Linked DNA regions of Homo sapiens: all the other regions are linked to region 1. The links are contacts of gene promoters, found by promoter capture Hi-C in blood cells and fetal thymus (Javierre and others, 2016). All regions are on one chromosome and are shown on one strand. The core of a region is centred on a gene start or on the middle of the fragment in contact, and the rest is flanking DNA. Distances in the headings are between cores, read along the strand shown. Region 1 holds the start of UBALD2 (UBA like domain containing 2). Region 2 has its middle 5.9 kb from the start of WBP2. Region 3 holds the start of TRIM47 (tripartite motif containing 47). Region 4 overlaps MRPL38 (mitochondrial ribosomal protein L38). Region 5 holds the start of FBF1 (Fas binding factor 1).

Evidence for each region. The method cuts DNA at HindIII sites, captures the fragments that hold promoters and counts their contacts. A CHiCAGO score of 5 or more calls a contact.
Region 2: a fragment that was not itself captured here is called in contact with the fragment with the promoter of UBALD2 in region 1 in 1 of 17 cell types (erythroblasts); the score reaches 5.4 in erythroblasts.
Region 3: a contact is called between the fragment with the promoter of TRIM47 here and the fragment with the promoter of UBALD2 in region 1, in 10 of 17 cell types (fetal thymus, erythroblasts, endothelial precursors and 7 more). The highest score is 8.8, in fetal thymus.
Region 4: a fragment that was not itself captured here is called in contact with the fragment with the promoter of UBALD2 in region 1 in 4 of 17 cell types (endothelial precursors, naive CD4 T cells, neutrophils and 1 more); the score reaches 7.7 in endothelial precursors.
Region 5: a contact is called between the fragment with the promoter of FBF1 here and the fragment with the promoter of UBALD2 in region 1, in 1 of 17 cell types (endothelial precursors). The highest score is 5.4, in endothelial precursors.

The regions. Positions count from the first base shown.
Region 1 is chr17:76,263,979-76,266,662 of GRCh38, forward strand. UBALD2 (UBA like domain containing 2) reads left to right here and starts at 1,370. Exons shown (of 3, transcript NM_182565.4): 1 at 1,370-1,647; 2 at 1,929-1,991. The coding sequence starts at 1,528. LOC105371896 (a long non-coding RNA gene) reads right to left here and starts at 1,103. Exons shown (of 6, transcript XR_007065913.1): 1 at 1-1,103. RefSeq lists enhancers at 773-822, 2,083-2,182 and silencers at 1,173-1,472, 1,773-1,912. The HindIII fragment of the contact is 2,310 bases long and covers 413-2,684 here.
Region 2 is chr17:75,859,940-75,862,623 of GRCh38, forward strand. No RefSeq gene overlaps it. Among named protein-coding and RNA genes, the nearest start is that of WBP2, 5.9 kb to the left of the region's middle. The HindIII fragment of the contact is 179 bases long and covers 1,286-1,464 here.
Region 3 is chr17:75,877,331-75,880,014 of GRCh38, forward strand. It overlaps TRIM47 (tripartite motif containing 47), which reads right to left and starts at 1,251. Exons shown (of 6, transcript NM_033452.3): 1 at 544-1,251. The coding sequence starts at 1,218. It also overlaps a transcript of TRIM65 not described here. RefSeq lists enhancers at 1-625, 626-1,541 and silencers at 386-565, 576-955, 1,086-1,435. The HindIII fragment of the contact is 18,500 bases long and covers 1-2,684 here.
Region 4 is chr17:75,899,492-75,902,175 of GRCh38, forward strand. MRPL38 (mitochondrial ribosomal protein L38) reads right to left here. Exons shown (of 9, transcript NM_032478.4): 3 at 2,529-2,663; 4 at 2,221-2,429; 5 at 1,710-1,782; 6 at 1,491-1,536; 7 at 25-183. Among named protein-coding and RNA genes, the nearest start is that of TRIM65, 3.9 kb to the left of the region's middle. The HindIII fragment of the contact is 3,542 bases long and covers 1-2,684 here.
Region 5 is chr17:75,939,735-75,942,418 of GRCh38, forward strand. FBF1 (Fas binding factor 1) reads right to left here and starts at 1,308. Exons shown (of 30, transcript NM_001319193.2): 1 at 1,114-1,308. ACOX1 (acyl-CoA oxidase 1) reads right to left here. Exons shown (of 14, transcript NM_004035.7): 14 at 1,773-2,684. RefSeq lists a silencer at 1,077-1,346 and an enhancer at 1,457-1,526. The HindIII fragment of the contact is 5,734 bases long and covers 1-1,544 here.

The DNA.
Region 1 (2,684 bases), core at 120-2,619:
CCTGTAGTCCCAGCTACTCGAGAGGCTGAGGCAAGAGGATCGCTCGAAGTTACAGTGAGCCATGATCATGTCACTCTAGCCCTATCTAACAACCACCACCACCAAATTTTGGACTTTAAAGGGCTACCACTGAGAAACAGTATCTCTGTAGAAACACTCACTGTTTGTTATTGTTTGTTTTTATTTGGTAGAGATGGAGTCTGTGCTATGTTGCCCAAGCTGGTGTTGAACTCCCGGCCTCAAGTTATCCTCCTGTCTCGGCCTCCCAAAGTGCTGGGATTATAGGTGTAAGCCATCCCAACCCCAGACTCCACCCCTACTGCCACCCGTTGTTTTTTTAAAAGATGGTAGAAATTAAAGCTTCATCTTAGCTTTCGTGACAAGCAAGAGAAAAAAAAAAAAAGAAAATTAAAGCTTCAGTTAGGTCAACCGATTTAACAAGAAAAAATTCTTGACTTGGCATTTTGGCCACTGAGAAAGTCTCACTTTTTTCCTTGCATATTTCCTTGCATATCGTATTTATTGTACATAAATCTTGGCTTCCATCTTCAGAGAGCAAAGTCTTTGGTCTAAAAACTGAGAAAATACTGCTCGATCCTTGCGGTGGGTAGTGATTAGAAGAGGGCAGGACGCGGGTTCCTAGGGTGCAAGTAACGTTCTGTTAATTGATCTGGGTGTTCACTTGGTGAAAAGTCTGGAAGCTGTACCTGCGACATCGCACTTTCCTAATGTACGTTATATTTCAATAAAAGATTTTTTTAAATTGGACTGCTTGAAAGTTATTTTTAAAAATTACATGCTTTTGAGACTTGAGCAGCTGCAAAGGCTCTGTTTTCTATTTTGATCATTCTGTTTCTCGAGATGACCACATCTTTCAGAGGAAATGAGTCAAAGCCACTCTGTCTTGCTTTTCCAGCTGAGCATGTTCTGTTTCAATGAAGTAATGAATGAACTTGGCCGCACCACCCCCAAGCCTACAACAGCAAACAGAGGGCCCTCGGCCAATCAGCAGGCACTCCGGGTTTTCAAGTTGAGTTCAAACAGGACCACCGGAGGCCAATCAGAGTGCGCGGCCCCGCCCCGAACGCCCGGCCGTGACCAACCACGAGGCCGGATGAGCCAAAACACAGCGGCCGGCCAATGCTGGGGAGCCCCACGGCGCCGAGCTCCGCCAATGGGCGCGGCCGGGCGAAAAGAGAAACAGTGAGGGCCCCACAGGCCGCAGGATTCGAATCGAACGTCCTTACGGGAGCCGGGCGCTGGCGGAGCGGCGCCCCGGCCAATCAGCGGCAGTCCCCGAACGTTGGGCCGGCCCAGCCCCGCCCCGCGCTGTTGTTTGTGGTGTCGGCCGGGCCGCGGGAGTCGAACCACAACATTCGCCGGGCGGGCGGCGGCGGAGCGGGCGGCGGAGCGGCGGCAGCAGCGGTGAGCGCGAGCCCCGGAGCCCCGGGCGGCCGGCCTCCCGCGCCCGCGCAGCCCCGCGTCTGCGTCCGGCCGGAGACGCCGGGCCCCGCGCCGCGCCGCGCCATGTCGGTGAACATGGACGAGCTGCGGCACCAGGTCATGATCAACCAGTTCGTGCTGGCCGCGGGCTGCGCGGCCGACCAGGCGAAGCAGTTGCTGCAGGCGGCCCACTGGCAGTTCGAGGTGCGAGCCTGGCCGCCGCGGGGCCGGGCCGCGGGGGTCGGGGACGCCGGGCGGCGGCGGGGGCGGGGAGCGCTCCTGTTGTCGGCCCGGAAGGCGATCGGCGCCCGCGAGCGGGTCTTACGCGGGACCGGGGCCGGGACCGGCTCCCCTCTGCACGTGGGGCAGCCGAGGGTCGGGGGCCGCGGGCCGGGCGCGGAGGCGGGGAGAGCCGGTGGGGGGCCCAGCCGCTGCGTTTCCTGACTCCGCCTGGCCCGCCGTGTCACTGCCCTGTTTGTCCGCAGACCGCGCTGAGCACGTTCTTCCAAGAAACCAACATTCCCAACAGCCACCACCACCACCAGATGGTAAGCGGCGGCGGGCAGGGGCGCGGGCCGGGGCCGCTGTCAGCGCGGCGGTGACAGCCATGTTGCCGGGGAGCGCCGCGCCGCGAATGTAAACAAAGAGCCAAAATGTCTTCCAGGAAAGAGCGGCTCCCGGGCCGGCGCTGGCGCCTCCAACTTTGAGGCCCGCCTCCCGGGCTGCTGCTGCTTGGCCTCGGGACTGGTGCCCGGCACTGGTCCCTGGGGGGAAGCGGCGCCAAAGTTGGGGGGAGGGGGAGAGGGCCGGGGGCCTGGCGAGGGGCTCAGGAGCTGGGGGACCCCAGAGCCAGGGGATGGGGAGGGGGAGAGGGTGATGCCCGGACGTCTGGGGCACTGGGAAGCCCGCGCGAAGGGCCCAGGGAGGGCGATGGGGGTGCTTGTGTTTATGGGGACCCCCTCGTGCTGTTGAGTGGTTTCCCCCCTCCCCCTCCACACACACACACACCCAGCGCTACAGGGAACAGGAAAGGCATGAATCCACCCTGGCTCAGGAAGCCGGGCTCTACCCACAAAGATCTGTTCAACCTTCCGAAGCCCAAGGGGACTGGGAAGTTGGAAGGACATACATCCCCCAAGCCAGGAGGACACACAGATTTTGACCCAAGATAAGGCCAGGAATGTGTCTTTAATCTCTGTGTTGAGCTCCACCAGCCCAGCACACAGAGAAGTGGTCCGGGG
Region 2 (2,684 bases), core at 125-2,624, 400 kb before region 1:
CAGGAGTTTGAGACCAGCCTGGGTGACAGAGCGAGACCCTGTCTTACATTGTCACTCAGGCTGGAGTGGTGCAGTCATGGCTTACTGCACCTTCAACCTCCCGGGCTCAAGCAATCTTTTTACGTCAGCCTCCTAAGTAGCTGGGACTACAAGTGCACATCACCATGCCTGGCTAGTTTAAAAAATTTTTTTGGTAGAGATGGGGTTCCATTATGTTGCCCAGGATGGTCTTGAACTCCTGGCATCAAGCAGTGGTCCTGCCTCAGCCTCCCAAGTAGCTGAGAGTACAGGCCCTGCCACCACCACATGCTGCTTAATTTGTATTTTGTAGTGGGATATATTCTGAAATTTTCTGTTTTATTTTGTCATCTTAAAAAATTGCTGCAAGCAGCCGGGCGCAGTTGCTGACGCCTGTAAATCCAGCACTTTGGGAGGCCGAGGCAGGCAGATCACGAGGTCAGGAGATCAAGACCATCCTGGCTAACACGGTGAAACCCTGTCTCTACTAAAAAAAAAAAATACAAAAAAATTAGCCGGGTGTGGTGGTGAGCACCTGTAGTCCCAGCTACTCAGGAGGCTGAGGCAGGAGAATGGCGTGAACCCAGGAGGCGGAGCTTGCAGTGAGCAGAGATCGAGCCACTGCACTCCAGTCTCGGCGACAGAGTGAGACTCCGTCTCAAAAAAAAAAAAAAAAATTGCTGAAAGGGCCGGGCTCGGTGGCTCGCACCTCTAATCCCAGCACTTTGGGAAGCCGAGGCGGGCAGATCACCTGAGTCAGGAGTTCAAGACCAGCCTGGCCAACATGGTGAAACCCCGTCTCTACTAAAACTACAAAATTAGCCGGGCATGGTGGCGCAAGCCTGTAATCCCAGCTACTCGGGAGGCTGAGGCAGGAGAATAGCTGGAATCTGGAAGACGGAGGTTGCAGTGAGCCGAGATGGCGCCATTGCACTCCAGCCTGGGCAAAAAGAGTGAAACTCAAAAAAAAAAAAAGTGCTGCCGGCGTGGTGGCTCACGGCGGACACTTGAGGTCAGGAGTTTGAGACCAGCCTGGCCAACATGGTGAAGCCCCCATCTCTACTAAAAATACAAAAAGTTAGCCGGGGGTGGTGGAGCGCACCTGTAGTCCCAGCTACTCAGGAGGCTGAGGTGGGAGGATTGCTTCGCTCAGGAGGCAGAGGCTGCAGTGAGCTGAGTTCGCACCATTGCACTCCAGCCTGGGTGACAGAGTGAGACCCCCATCTCAAAAAACAAAACAAAACACCAAAATCAACAATAATACAGAAGCTTGAAAGAGGAGCCCCAGGGTACTAAAACCCAGCCCTCTGAAGAGCGGGCCTGGGCCGGCTGGTGCTGGTGCCCGTGCCTCTGAAGGGAGCTCAGGGTAGCTGGTTCTGCAAGGGTTGGAAAAAGTAGAAACTGGATTCAGCTGCTGCTAAAGAACTGCAGCTGCCCCAATGAAGAAGCTTTCCTGGGTACAATACAGGCAAAAATAGTGAGCAGATGGGAGGCTGGGGCCTTCTCCAGCCCTTCAGGCCTCTCTAGCGCCCCCTCTTGGCAGAGCCTGGCAGGGAGCAGCAGGCAATGGAGAAACGTGGCTCTGGGTGCATTGGCTCATGCCTGTAATCATAGCAGTTTGGGAGGCCCAGGCAGGTGGATCACCTGAGGGCAGGCGTTCGAGGCCAGCCTGGGCAACACGGTGAAACCCCATCTCTACTAAAAATACGAAAATTATCTGGGCGTGGTGGCGTGTGCCTGTAGTCCCAGCTACTCAGGAGGCTGAGGCAAGAAAATCTCTGGAATCCAGGAGGCAGAGCTTGCAGTGAGCCAAGATCGCACCACTGCACTCCAGCCTGGGCGACAGGGCAAGACTTCATCTCAAAAAGTAGTAATAAAAAATAAAATTAAGAAAACAAAGACATGTGGCTCTGAGTCCCAGCCAGACCATGAAGCTGAGTTGGGTGGGTGGGTGTTATGAGTTGAGTTCGGTCCCCCCGACTTCAAATTCACATGTTGAAGTCCTGACCTGCAGTACCTCTGAAAGTGACCTTATTTGGAAATAGGGTTGTTGAAGACATCATTAGTTAAGATGAGATCATTAGGGTGGGCCCTAAATCCAGCGTGACTGGTGCCCTTGTAAGAAGGAGAAACTTGGACACAGACACACACGCAGGGAGAAGGCAGGCGGTGCAAAGAGGGAGGCAGAGAGCTACCAAGATTGCTACACGGATTGCTACATATTGTCAACAAACCACCAGAAGCAAGGAGAGCGTCAGGGGACAGATTCGCTCTCACAGCCTCAGAAGGAGTCAACCCTGCCCGTACCTTGATTCCAGACTTCGGTCTCCAGCACTGAGACAATACATTTTGATTGTTTTTGTTTGTTTGTTTGTTTTGAGACGGAGTCTCACTCTGTCGCCCAGGCTGGAGTGCACTGGCGCGATCTCAGCTCACTGCAAGCTCCGCCTCCGGGATTCACGCCATTCTCCTGCCTCAGCCTCCCGAGTAGCTGGGACTACAGGCGCCCGCCACCACGCCCAGCTAATTTTTTTGTATTTTTAGTAGAGACGGGGGGGGTTCCACCGTGTTAGCCAGGATGGTCTCGATCTCCTGACCTCGTGATGTGCCCGCCTCGGCCTCCCACAGTGCTGGGATTACAGGCGTGAGCCACCGCACCTGGCCCA
Region 3 (2,684 bases), core at 1-2,500, 390 kb before region 1:
CAGAGGCGCCAAGACCGGGCTGGAGGCCAAAGGAAACTGGGGGCGGGAGGTAGAGGCCGCGGCTCACATGCTCCCACCACTGGCCCCCGGAACAGCTGGACAGAGAATCTGTGTGCCCGGTCGCCCTCTGCCGCCCTCCTGCCGCCTGCCACACCCATCGAAAGCTGCTGCCTCAGCCCAGGGCAAATCTGAGCTGAGACCGGCGTGACCCTCCGGGCGGGAGCAGCAGCCACGCTACCGGAACCCCGCGGGCCTAACCCGGCTCCCTCCCGCCTACACCCCCATAGACCCCGGCCCGGCTTCAGGTCCCCTGCCCGCTCTTCGCGTCCTTGTCCTGTTCTCACGTCCCTCCTTCCTCCCTTCCCATCTCCATCACCGCCAGCAGATGACCTTGTCAAGGCTGGAAGGGACCGCAAAGATCCTCAGGTTAGAGGAGGAGATTAAGACCCAACCCGGGAAGACTGGGGGGTCCAAGGTCCTCGGCCCGCTCGCGCGCGGTCGGTCACCAGCCCCGGCTCACCCGAGTGTGCCCCCGGAGCCCACCTCCTGAAGCGCGCGCTCCTGCTCCAGCGGCACCAGCTCGTGGCCGCGGTGCTCCTGTGCGGCGCAGGCCTCGCACAGACACACGCGCTCCGCGCGGCAGTAGCGCTCGAGCGGCCGTAGGTGGCGCGGGCACAGGCTCTCCTCTAGCCGGCGCAGCGGCGGCACCAGGCGGTGTCCGCGGAGGGCGGGGCTGCGCTCGTGCGGGCCCAGGTGCGCGGGGCAAAAGGAGGCGAGGCAGGAGAGGCAGGACAGCGCGGCGGGCAGGGCCGCGCCCTCGGGGCACGCGTCGCAGCGCACTGGCTCTTCGCCCGCGGGCCACGGCTCGGGAGCGCAGGGGGCCGACGGCTCCGGGACACTGGGCAGCGCGCTGGGTGCCGAGGGCTCCGGGGCCAGGGCAGGGGCCGGGCCGGGGCCGGACCCGGGGCCCGAGCCCTGGCGGAGCTGCAGCAGCTCGGACAGCGTGTGGTTCTTGCGGAGCTGAAGGCCGTCGGGGAAGGGCTCCTGGCACAGCGGGCAGCGGGCCGCGCCTCCGGGTCCGCCGGCTCCACTCGCGCCACGATGCGGCCAGAGCGCGCCCAGGCAGGCGAGACAGAAGTTGTGGCCGCAGGGCAGCGTCACCGGCTCCCGGAGTGGCTCTAGGCAGATGGGGCAGCTGAAGGGTCCACTGCCGTCCATGACTCCGCGGCCGCCCAGGGCGCCGCCGATTGTGCTCCGGCCTGGGAGGGACCCGGGCCGTTCGCGCCGCGGCACCTCCCCCTGGGACCTAGGCCAGGGCTCCGGCCCCCGCCCGCCCCCAGCTCGGCCCGCCCCGCAGCACCGCCCGCCTGCGGGCCCGCGGACTCCCAGTCCCCGCCCAGACAACGCAGGGAGGCCTCCGAGCCCGCGCGACCCCCAGGGGAGTCCGCGTGGTCCTAAGGAAGGGCGCTGCTGAAAGGGTGTGAAACTGAGTGAGCGCGGGCGGAGAACGCGAGAGGTACAGTGGAAGGAATGGGAAGGACTCAGCCTCCATCCCTCTGGTCCTTCTGGGCCAGGCCAGCGCTCCGCAGGGGCTGGGCGCGTCTAGCTGTGTCATGCCTGCACCTTTGCGCTCGACCCCTCCCTGGCACCCTTAGCAAAGTTCCTGAGCTGCTGACTGCAGAGAAAAATAACTGCTGATGTACATATGTTTTTGCCCCTTAGCGACTCTTTTTTTTTTTTTTTTTGAGACAGAGTTCCTCTCTTGTCGCCCAGGCTGGAGTGCAGGGGCGCTATCTCGGCTCACTGCAACCTCCGCCTCCCGGATTCAAGTGATTCTCCTGCCTTAGCCTCCCAAGTAGCTGGAATTATAGGCGCTTGCCACCACACCAGGCAAATTTTTGTATTTTTTTGTAGAGACGGAGTTTCACCTTGTCCAGGCTGGTCTTGAACTCGTGACCTCAGGTGATCCACCTGCCTCGGCCTCCCAAAGTGCTGGGATTACAGGCGTGAGCCACAGCGCCCAGCTCCTTTAGCGACTCTTTACCCCAAGTAGGGAACTTGGACTTTTCTAGACCTGAAATGGGAAGTTGACGTCATTCCCTAAGTCCCTTGTCTGAGGAATGTAGTTCTGGCCCCTGGACACTGGGGACACCTGTGGTGGGGTTGGGGGTTCCCCAACTGGAAGTATTTAAAGCTCATCTAATTATGCACTTAAAGTGGTGCGTTTTATTGTATGAGTTATATCTCAATAATGTTAAGTTAAAACACTACACCAGAATGACAACAAAATAAGTAAAGTAGCACTGATTATAACCCAAAGTGTAAAATAAACATCTATGAGTCCATGCCGATATAAATAAATAATAAATTAACAAGCTGGGGAGAACAGACATATTTCGCATTGAAAATTCCAAATAATGTTTTTTTATTTTTATTTTTTTAGATGGAGTTTCGCTCTTGTCGCCCAGGCTGGAGTGCAGTGGCGCAATCTCAGCTCACTGCAACCTCTGTCTCCTGGGTTCAAGCGATTCTCCCTCCTCGGACTCTTGAGTAGCTGGGATTACAGGCGCCCGCCACCACATTTGGCTAATTTTTGTATTTTTAGTAGAGACGGGGTTTCACCATGTTGGCCAAGCTGGTCTCGAACTGCTGACTTCAGGTGATCCACCCGCCTCGGCCTCCCA
Region 4 (2,684 bases), core at 115-2,614, 360 kb before region 1:
TTATGTGTGGGTGGTGTAGATTACCAGGGTGAGGGGCGTGCGTCCTCAGAGAAGTCAATCGGCTGGTCCTGCTTGAAGAGCAGGAAGGCAAGACGGTGGATGCCGGAGCCTCGGGCAGGGAAGGGGGGGAGGTAGGGACACGTCACCTGTCCTTCAGCCACCCGGTTACCCGGGATGTTGGTTCTGGGAGGAGGAAAGTCCCGGTTAATTACCACTCCAGGGAGGCAGCAGGAGTGTCCCCTCAGCTCCATGCACACCCTAGAGGCTGACATGACTCCCTGGGAGGACAGCTCTAAGCATCTCTCTCCTGGGACAGAGGAGGCAGCCAAGCTCTGTGAACGCCGGGACATGCTGCAAATACGGGAAGCGGGCTGGAGGAGCTCCGAGTGGGGGACAGGGCTCCAGAGAGCATCAGCTTGACAGCAAGGCCATGCAGCCGCTTCCAGGCCCCGGGAGCCGGTGGGTCCGCCACAGTCACTGAGGCTAGAAAGCCAGGCCACTTTTGGCTGCTTTTCCCTCTGCGTCCTGAAGTCTCCAGGACCTCGTCAGGGAGTGTGTGCCCAGCCTGGCACAGGGGCGGCCAACGCCTCAGGCACAAATCCCCAGAGGGTCCTGCCGCATAGGCTGGTAACAGTTGAATAAAAATGACGGAAACCAGCCTCCCAGTCACTGTCCCCAGTTAACCAGAAGGCTCAAAGTTGGGGTCACTGGCCTGACCTCTGCCCCCTGGCCTGGTGTTCAGAGCCAAAAGCTACCAAGATGGAAGGCCGCCCAGTCTGGGCCCAGGGAAGGAGCGCCCAGTGGTTCAAGGAGCACCTGGGGGACGCCACAGCTGCTAGGCCTCTCCCGCTCCTTCTCCCACGTGACTGTCACAGTCCACCTCACGCTGAGTAAGGCATGTGGTGCCATTATCCCAGTTTTACAGGTGAAGAAATGAGTTTAGAGACGAAGGGCCCAGGCATGGTGGCTCACGCTTATAATCCTAGCACTTTGGGAGGCGGAGGCGGGCAGATCGCTTGAGCTCAGGAGACCAGCCTGGGCAACATGGTGAAACCCTGTCTCTATAAAAAAATACAAAAATTAGCTGGGTGTAGTGGTTTGCACCTGTAGTCCCAGCTACTCAGGAGACTGAGGTGGGAAGAGCACCTGAGCCCAGGAGTTAGCGGCTGCAATTAGCCATGATTGCACCACTGTACTCCAGCCTGGGGGACAGAGTGAGACCCTGTCTCAAAAAAAAAAAAAAAAAAGAAAAGAAAAGATGAGGAGGCTTGTGGGGACTGACCGAGGCCTACTGCAAACTTTGTCTCCTGTAGCTGTCTTCAAGTAGACACGTGGATCCCAGGGCCCCTAACACCCTCAGGAGGCAGAGGTGGCAGGTGAATTCAAGGTCCCATGGGTAGTCCATGAAACTCAGGAGCAGCTCAGTCCAGGCTCCCAGCTCCTCTTCCCGCCTGGGCAGCACCCCCTACCCCCAGTACTCCAGTACTCACAGCAGCCAGTGGAGGTACTCAGCATCTGGCTCCAGCAGGTGCCCATCTGCACAAAAACACACCTGCTGACCACGGCCCAGCCGACCACGGCCCTGCCACCCCCTCCCTTGTTAGGAGCCAGCGCTGGAGATCTCCACCTGGCCCCTCCCCCAGCCCCCCAGGGCCCTGGCTCATAGGAGGTGAGCGGGGCAGGAGGCCTGGTGAGCCCCAGACACCCACCCAAGCTAGTGAGTAGCAACGTCCACAAGGAGCCCTCTTCTGCCTCATAGGTCACCTCTGGCGCTTGGGCAGCCTGGCAGGGTGAGAAGGAAGCTGTCAGCCCCACCAGGGACAGGCCAGCTGTTGCAGGGAGCCTTGGAGAAAGGGGTGCCCACTCTGACCCAAAAGCCCTTGACAACCCCTGGCACAGGCAGGCAGGCAAAGGGATGCGTAGAGAAGCAGCCCTGCAGAGTTGCCTGTCCAGGCAACAACCACAAAAACGAACATGTGCCAAGGCCGGGCCAGGAGGGCACACCACAGACAGCAGGCTGGTCACAGGAATGTGCTAAGACAGAGCCTCTTTTTCCTTCATTTTGTTCTATTTTCTTTGAAATTGTCATGGTGTCGTCTTCCAGGAAATCAAAGAGACAGAGAACAACAAAATTCCAAACCCAGGAGTGTCTGTGACACTGAGATGGGATGTGTCTGTGTTTGCACAGGGCAGGGAGGAGGGGCACAAGTGAGTGGTTACCTCGGTTGGAGTCACCTCATTGCCACAGTACACAGGCATCAGGTCATCCTCACCCACAGCGTAGGCCACGTGCAGGGGGACTCGGGGCACAAAGGTGGCACCGTGGAACAGGTCTCGGTAGAGGCCGTAATACTCAGCCAGACGCTGCTTGTGGTAGGGGCCACAGGTCCTCTCCCACTCGGCCCGCACGGCATCCAGCGGGACACTGGCTAGACAGGAATAAGGCCAGTTGGGATACGGGGGTGGGGGGGGCAGGGACACACCCTGTACCCCAACTCTGGGATGGCCCCTCCCCTGAGAAGGCTTACCTGTGCGGAGGCGGGCAGCCCGCTCCTCTTCCACATTGGCCCGAAGCTCCTGGATGGCCTGTTTCCGTTCCAGTAGCTGTTGGGTCCGGGAGACTTTGGGTGGAGGCAGCCCAATATCAATCTTCTCTTTGGGATCTGGAGTGGGAAGATGTGTGG
Region 5 (2,684 bases), core at 58-2,557, 320 kb before region 1:
TAGGCAGTAAATCTGACCCATTGAGAACATTTTCCTCGGAATTAGCTGTCTCCCTCCCCCTCCTCCACTTTACCAAAACCCACCTACAGGATGTCCTGGAAGAAAGGAGTCAGAGGGGTCCTCTTTATGTCCCAAGTATTGGCCTGTCCTGTTATTGGAATGCAAGGGTTATCTGGGCTTACCTACAGAGCCCACCCTGAATACATGTGTTTTCTTTTTTTTCTTTTTTTAGACGGAGTCTTGCTCTGTTGCCCAGGATGGAGTGCAGTGGTGCGATCTTGGCTCACCACAACCTCAGCCTCCCGGGTTCAAGCGAATCTCCTGCCTCAGCCTCCCGAGTAGCTGGGAATACAGGCACATGCCACCATGCCCGGTTAATTTTTGTATTTTTAGTAGAGACGGGGTTTCACTGTTGGCCAGGAGGTCTCGAACTCCTGACCTCGTGATCTGCCCGTCTCGGCCTCCCAAAGTGCTAGGATTACAGGTGTGAGCCACCACGCCTGGCCTTCTTTCTTTTTTTTTTTTCCAGACAGGGTCTCGCTCTGTTGCCCAGGCTGGAGTGCAGTGGCACGATCACAGCTCTCATAGCTTACTGCAGCCTCGACCTCCTTGGGCTCAGGCGATCCTCCAATGTCAGCCTCCCTAGCAGCTGGGACCACAGGCACACGCCACCATGTGCGGCAAATTTTAAAATTTTTTTTGTAGAGACGGGGGTCTCCCTATGTTGCCCAGGGTCGTCCCAGACGCCTGGCCTCAAGTGATCCTCCCGCCTTGGCCTCCCAAAGTGTCGGGATTACAGGCGTGAGCCACCGTGCCCGGCCTTGTTTCTTTTTCTCTGCAATGGCGACTTCACGACCTACAAGTCCAAATGTGTCCCATAACACATCAAGGAACTTCTGGCATCTCCTATCGATCCTGTACGGGCTTCTCAGACTATGGGGATTTTCTAGGCTTGGTTTGCCAAGGCCAAAGGGCTACAGAGTAACCCCGTCCCCACATGTATTCAGCCGACTCCATGCCAGGCGTTTTACAGATCCCGAGACCACCCCTAAGCAAGACCCCTAGCCGGAGTCGCCCCTCCGTCCCGAGACTCCGCGCCCCTCAATGCGTCACCCTTCTGAGCGCCCGGCCTATCTGGCCCCGGAGCGCAGCCTGTAACGCTCTCAGCCCCGGAAGCCTCCTGTTACGCGCCGTGCCCCCGGAGGTGCGGCCGCTGGGACCAGCGCCGGCCCTGGCTCCATTCGGGTCGCCCAGCCCGGCCAGGACTGGCCTCCCGCTTCCAGCCGCTGCCGGCACCCTCAGCCGTCTGGCCTCCCGCGGAAAGGCGGGCGCGAGGCATCCTGGGAGTCGCAGTCGGCGGTCGACTCACCCGCCCTCACAGAGGAGGTGGGGACGCCATGAAGAACTACAGCTCCCAGGGAGCCGCGCGCGGCAGTTGGCGGGGCCGGGCTTCTGCCGGCGGCGGGCACGTTGCTAGGAGCTGCCCCAACGCCTCTCCGGGAAGAGGGCGCCAGGCTCAAAGGCCCTCTTGGGAACTGCCGGGAAGCTTAAAAGTTCCTCCTGCCCACTTCTGAGGGCTGACACGTGGCCGACGCGGAGGCGTGAGAAATGTGTTGATATTGGGAGGTTGACGGGTGAATCCACAAATTCACCGGTGTTTATTCCACACCCCAAAGCTTGAGGGAAGTGACTGACCTGTTTAATGATCCAATCAAAGCTGTATAGCCAGAATGAAACCCAATACTGTCGCCCCACAAAAAGATTAAGTCACATTTTTTCTAGTATGTGCTAATTATGAATTTTATTAAGGTTTATTCAATGTCACAGAGGAAAGAACGGTTTGTAGTTTTGCTTACCCGCAGTGCTGGCAGGTCACAGCTGTCCAACCATGATCCATTCACATGCTCTGGCCCCGTGCCCCTCGTCCTCCCACCCCTACCCCACAGGACACCATTAAGCCAGGGCTGGGTAACAACATATGCTCAATGCATCTTCTCAGGTGAGAACCAAACTCGAGCCACAACAGCAAAGGGGGAAAAAGGTAGCAAAGTAATTATGTGCTCCCAAGGCAGTCATTTAGTTGAATCCATAACTGGAAATAAAAAGGCATTTATGAAGTGTAGTCCGCAGTCTGAATGTGGAAGGTGGAAGATCACACATTTACTAAGAAACACTCAAAACATATTTTGGTTCAGAATTCTAAAAAATCCCGAATTTTCCATGATCTTCCCAAGACAACCAATGACCCACTTAAATTTAAGGCAAAAACACCCTTGAATCTAGGAATGTGCACATATGCAACAGCTAACATCTGGTAACTCTAATAATGTTCCTTATATGTTTCTGTGTTTACTATCATGAACCATAGGAAGAAGTACTGGAAAATTTAGTAAGTGTGGACAGTTAAAAACACTGGCCCGGCACGGTGGCTCACGCCTGTAATCCCAGCACTTTGGGAGGCCGAGGTGGGTGGATCACGAGGTCAGGAGTTCAAGACCAGCCTGGCCAACTTGGTGAAACCCCTGTCTCTACTAAAAATACAAAAAAACTAGACAGGCATGGTGGCAGGCGCTGTAATCCCAGCTTCTCAGGAGGCTGAGGCAGAGAATTGCTTGAACCCGGGAGGCAGAGGTTGCAGTGAGCCAAGATTTCGCCACTGCACTCTACCCTGGGTGAAAGAGCAA